2 separate regions of the Homo sapiens genome follow, and region 2 is linked to region 1. The links are contacts of gene promoters, found by promoter capture Hi-C in blood cells and fetal thymus (Javierre and others, 2016). All regions are on one chromosome and are shown on one strand. The core of a region is centred on a gene start or on the middle of the fragment in contact, and the rest is flanking DNA. Distances in the headings are between cores, read along the strand shown.

Evidence for each region. Contacts are between HindIII fragments. The CHiCAGO score rates a contact against its expected background, and 5 or more counts as called.
Region 2: a contact is called between a fragment that was not itself captured here and the fragment with the promoter of CFLAR-AS1 in region 1, in 1 of 17 cell types (neutrophils). The highest score is 5.4, in neutrophils.

The regions. Positions count from the first base shown.
Region 1 is chr2:201,156,302-201,159,316 of GRCh38, reverse strand. CFLAR-AS1 (CFLAR antisense RNA 1) reads left to right here and starts at 1,525. Exons shown (of 7, transcript NR_040030.1): 1 at 1,525-1,562. All of the region lies in intron 8 of CFLAR (CASP8 and FADD like apoptosis regulator), which reads right to left. RefSeq lists enhancers at 797-1,126, 1,147-1,226. The HindIII fragment of the contact is 4,248 bases long and covers 1-3,015 here.
Region 2 is chr2:200,520,491-200,523,505 of GRCh38, reverse strand. No RefSeq gene overlaps it. Among named protein-coding and RNA genes, the nearest start is that of SGO2, 4.2 kb to the left of the region's middle. The HindIII fragment of the contact is 225 bases long and covers 1,437-1,661 here.

The sequences.
Region 1 (3,015 bases), core at 276-2,775:
TTAATTATTATATCATGTAAGAATGAAGAGCTACAAAGGAGGTGCTGATATTCCTAAGTCTATAATCAATAAGCATCATTAACAAGGAAATAGGAGACATGATTCACAGGTTGCAAATAACCCATTAAATAGTGAGGGCAACCAGCCCCAGTGGCTCACATCTGTAATCCTAGCACTTTGGGAGGCCGAGACGGGCAGATCACCTGAGGTCAGGAGTTCGAGACCAGTCTGGCCAATATGGTGAAACCCCGTCTCTACTAAAAATACAAAAATTAGCCAGGCGTGGTGGTGCTCACCTGTAATCCCAGCTACTAGGGAGGCTGAGACAGGAGAATTGCTTGAACCCGGGAGGCAGAGGTTGCAGTGAGCCAAGATTGCGCCACTGCACTCCAGCCTGGGCAACAGAGCAGAACTCCGTCTCAAATTCAAATAATAATAATAATAATAATAATAATAATAATAATGATGAGGGCAAATGCCGTTACAGGATCTCTGGGTAGCTGTTATCAGGACTGTAATTTTGCACAGCCTTTTTGAAGAGCAATTTGGGAGTATCATTAAATTTTAAATGTGTATACCCTTTATAAAAAAAAGAAAACTCTGTGTGGTAGAAGAGGCCTGGACGCACTGTCCCCTAGCCATCTCCTCTGAGGGTGCAGGCTTGTTTCGATACCCAGTGCTGAATCCAGGCTGAACAAGGAGAGAACCTGGACTAGGACTCCAGTTCCATCACTGCTATTCTATTCCAAAGGACTCACACGTCTCTAATCATGGAGTATTTGCTCCTCCAGGGGGCAGAAGCAAACAGGGAAACACCAGACTCAAAGCTCTTTTGTGTACTTATCTCAAGATTGGTTCACTTCCCTCAAAACCTCTCTTCACTGATAAATGTCCTTCCTTATCAAACAAAGTCCTTGAAAGAAAACTTCACCACATTCTCCCTGCCCATGCTGATATGTAAGGCTTGGACAGAACAAATGCTGTACTGTGCCTTCCAGCTCTTTCCTTTATTTGTGCTCCCTGGAGGTTCTGGCTGGGGAAGCCCCTGTCACATGACTGTGAGCAGACAGCTGTGTGGTGCAGGGCAAAAGAGGAACCAGCCTTGGAATCACAAGATGTGGGTTTAAGTCCTAGTTCCTCCATCTCCTCCTACTAGGGTCTGAATCTTGCATGGTCTTGGAAGAGACTGAGCTATAACAGCAGAGAAGCTAGGAAGGAAATGGGAATCTGAGGTCTGGGGCAGAAAATCCTTACCTAAAAGAACAGAAGAAAAATGGCTAAAGCTGGAGGTGAAGCCAAAAACCATGCAGGTCCCAAGTGCCAATAAGAATAGCAGGTCTGAGCCTCAGACAAGACACAGCATTGCTTAAATATCCTGTGGCAAGGGAGTCACTCCACAGGCCCAGCCTGAAGACATTACCGCTGACATTTCCCATTAACGTCACAATTTTCCTCTATGAGGTGGTGAGGTGGAGTGGGAAGGGCTGTTAGCTGGCACTTGCAACTTTATTGCGCCAGCAAGAACATGCATACAGCCCAGTCTAACGTACAGGATCAAAAAGGTAATGACAGTGTGACTTTGAGTCAGTTTGAGTCAGCCCCAGTTTATTCATCTATAAAACAAGATTAAAACTAATGCTTGGCCAGGTGCAGTGGCTCACACCTACAATCCCAGCACTTTGGGAGGCTGAGGTGGGAGGATGGCTTGAGCTCAGGAGTTTGAGACCACCCTGGGCATCACAGGGAACCCCGTCTCTACAAAAAATAAAAAAACTAGCCAGGCATGGTAGTACAAGCCTGTAGTCATCACAGCTACTCAGGAGGCTGAGGCAGGAGGATCTCTTGAGCAGGAGGTTCTTCAAAAGGTGACTGTGAGGGCAGGGTACAGTGGCTCATACCTGTAATCCCAGCACTTTGGGAGGCCAAGGCGGGTGGATTGCTTGAGCTGCAGAGTTTGAGACCAGCCTGGGCAACATGGCGAAACCCCATCTCTACCAAAAATACAAAAATTGGCTGGGCATGGTGGCACGCATCTGTGGTCCCAGCTACTTGGGAGGCTAAGGAAGGAGGATCACTCGAGCCCAGGAAGTGGAGGAGCCAAGATCGCTCCACTGCACTCCAGCCTGGGTGAAAGAGTGAGACTCTGTCTCAGAAAAAAGGTGACCGTGAGGATCCAATGAGATTTCTGTAAAGATGCTTTGCAAACTGTGTTTATTCAAATATAAGATATTGACTTTAAAGGAAATAAAGGCAGCCATTTCAAAGTACAAATCACCAACCTTATGGTGTTGCACATCTCTCATGGAATCTCTCTCTTAGGACCTGGAGGGAGGTCTCTATATTCTAAACTAAAATGGGCTCAGAGCAGACAGAGTCCATATCCTATGTAGGTAGGACAGTAACTGTTTTGTCCTTGCACATAAATAGAGGAAGAAAAACTTGGGGGCTGGGTTTGGAAAATAAAATTTCAACAAACTACAGAAGACCCACTTCTCCTTCTAGAACCCACCCTGGAAATCCCACACTCAACCCAGTCTGATCTCCGTAAATTTCAACTGTTCTTTAGAACTTCTGGAAATGATGTGGGGGGGTGGGGAGGGGAAGGGCAGGGGTTCTTCTGGCCTTGCAGTTAGTACAGGGCTGTTCATTCAAGGCTAGGGTCAGCACTACTCACAGGTTTGAGGACTTCACAGATAAACCAAAAAAACCAAAATACAGTAAAATGTCATGACTTCATTAATTTAGAATTTGTTTTGATCTAAATGAGGATACATTTATCTTGACAATTTCTATGAAAAGGGCTTCATTAAATAAATGTATAAAATAAACAAGAATGAGGGAATGCTTCACCAGTTAATTTACAATCACATATTGAGTACCTTTAATAAGCCCAGTGTTAACTGCTATAGAGCACATGGGTAAAACATAAGATGGGCAAAACATTCTTAGTGAAAAAGGGAGTTCTGAGGTCAAACGTGTTTGGGAAATGCAAGGTGGACAAGGCTAAAATAGGTT
Region 2 (3,015 bases), core at 300-2,799, 640 kb after region 1:
GGGACCACCACTGCATATGGGAAAGTGGGCATAGTTGTGCTGCAGTTTTCCCATCACTGCTGCTTGGCATTACTAGCTCCTGTTGCTAGACCTGGTTTGGGTGTGTCTGACTCGTCAAACCTGAATCATATGCTACAAGTCCTGCTGCAAGGGAGTCCTGAACAGCCTGTGTCTGGCTTTTGTTGTTGTGTTGATGATGATGATGATTATGATGATGGTGGCTTCTTAGTGAGAGGTAACCTAGACAGACTCATAAGGTGAGGAATTACCCAAACTCAGGAAGTGCATTTTGAGCTAGGCGGCCAAAAGAATGACAAAGGTTCATTTCAGTATTTTATGCAACTTTACTACAATAATTACTTTTATTTTATTTAATAGAAACCAGTTAAATAAGCTGTGCTGGGTGATGGATAGCTAATCATTATAACAGCAGCAGATAATATTTATTAAGGGCTTATCTTGTCCTAGACACTGTGTCAAGCCCTTTAAATGCCTTTTTAGTTCTCAAAATGATCCTATGTGGTAGGTACCATCATTTCCTTTTTAAAGTTGAGGAAATTGTCCCCACCTTTCTGGGTGGAACCAAGAAAGCACCAAAAATTTAAGTAACTTCTACAAGGTTTAGTTAAGTGGTGCAGCTGGTATTTGAACCCAGGCAGCCTGGCCTGAGCCTCTCAAGATAGTGAGAGAATTACTTTGTCATTTGTCACTTTGGTTTTGAGGCATGGTATCCATCATGCTAATTTCCTCATGTTTCCTGCTTGTCAGCCTCCTCTTTTTCTTCAATATACGTTTATCAGGAGCCCCTTTGCACCTGGCATTTTGCTGAGGGTAAAGATGGATGAGGCAAATGTTCTTTCCTTTTGGGAGACAGTAGACAAGCAAACAGTCCATTCCTGTATATTGTGATATGTAGATGTTGAGGTTTGCAAAAGATGCCATCAAAGCATTTAGGAAACAGGACAGCTGCGGTGACTCACACCTGTAATCCCAGCATTTTGGGAGGCCAGGGCAGGAGGATCGCTTGAGCCTAGGAGTTGAAGACCAGCCTGGGTAACTTAGCAAGACTCTTGTCTCAAGAAAGAAGGAAAGAAAGATAGAAAGAAGGAAGGAAGGAAGGAAAGAAAGAAAGAAAGAGAAAGAAAGAAAGAAAGAAAGAAAGAAAGAAAGAAAGAAAGAAAGAAAGAATATTTAGGAAACAAAGAGCAGCTCTTAAAAGAAGAGGGAAGACAAATCTTCAGGGGAAGTCACTTAGCGGTGGAACCTCGAAGGCCAAGTTGGGTGGGATTCATTAGGCTGACAGCACATAGCCTGTCCCAGGAAGCAGTTCAGAGCTGCTGGGGCCTAGGACGCATGTGGTCAGATAGGGGGAGCAAAGGCTGAGAGGTTAGACAAAGTCAAGTAACAGAAGGATCTTGGGTGCACGCTAAGAAGCTTTACTTTGTGTGGACAATGAAGGAAAGCATTGGGTGTAGGGGAGGGAGCAGTGCTTAAACTCTCAAGAAGTTTAAGAAAAGGGAGTGATAAAGATCCGATTAACTCTAGAAAATCCAGGATCGATGTTGGGGATAGATGGAAGGGGTCTTTGAGCCTTGAGGTGATTCAAGAACATTTCTGTGGTTTAGGCAAGGGCAGGGAATATGTAACAGGAGCACCAAGCTTCCTTATGTCTGACCAAGGTGTATGTGTGTGTAGAAGGGAGGCTTGTCTGGAAAGGGATAAAATAATCAGGGAACTTGGTCTACCACTTGTCCAGCTAGATAACCTCTAGCCGTGGTTCTCATGGCGACTTTTTTCTCTACACTACTCCAGTCCAGATGTTGGATGACACTGAGAGACTGGGGTGTAGTCTACTTCTCAGCCTCCACCCTGTGCCTCTGCAGGAAGTCCGAAAAGCTTAAAGTACTCCTTTACTCAATATCTCCACTCATAAAATCCAAACCATACAAAGTGGAGGCTTGAGGAAGGGGCCTGAAAAGATAGCTGCTGTACTCACTGGCTTTACCAGTGGACTCACAGTTACATGTACCACGCTGCTGGCATGGTCCTGAAGCCCACGTCTCCAGAGTTATTTCCATATGGACATTCCCTGGCTGCTGGATGGGGTCCCAGAGACCCCCATACCCTTCCTCATCATATAGCCTTCCCTTTTCCACTCTTCATTGAAAATGCAAAGGAATAGCAGCTGTGGAAAATAACTCTGCTATTTAGGAGATCTAGTCAGAAATGTCCAGTAGGCTCACAGAAATAAGAAATATGGAGCTGAAAAGGGATACTCAGATTTGGGAGTCAGCAGCAAATAGTAATTAGAAATCACAAGAGTTGATTAAGTTGTGGAGGAAGAGTGTGTAGAGGCACAAGAAGAGTAGAAGGTAGAATCACGGTGAACATCAATGAATGGAGGAAAGATGAAAAGGCAGCAAGAGAGGCAGTGAGAGGTAGAAGGAGACACGTGGGAGGGCTGAGGGAGGAATGATGGTTGGGAAGGGACTGCCAACCTGGTCTTAAGCAGCAGGAAGACCTGAGTGAGAACAGTCCTGGGGTTTGACAGTTAAGGAGTCATTCCTTTTGCAGCAGAGAGGATGCAGAGATGAGAATAGACAGTTCTTTGAGGATCAAGAAAGAAGTAACAATAGCTACAGGGGAATGAGGTTGGAGGGGGGGTTTGTATTTGTGAAAGGAAAATCTTGGGGCCTCAAAATTACTAAGCTAAAGGGAAAAGTCAAGGTGGAAACTGCTCAGGACAAAACTTTCCTCCCACTCTATTCAAAGTCATCCCTCTGCTCACTGAGATAAATGTACATTCTGATTGCCTCCTTCAGAAAAGCCTATCAGAAACTCAAAAGAATGCAACCATTTGTCTCTCATTTACCTGTGACCTGGAAGCCCTGTCCCTGCTTCAAGTTGTCCCCACCTTTCTGGGTGGAACCAATGTACTTCTTACATATATTGATTGACGTCTCATGCCTCCTTAAAATGTATAAAACCAAGCTGTGCCCCGACAACCTTGGGCAC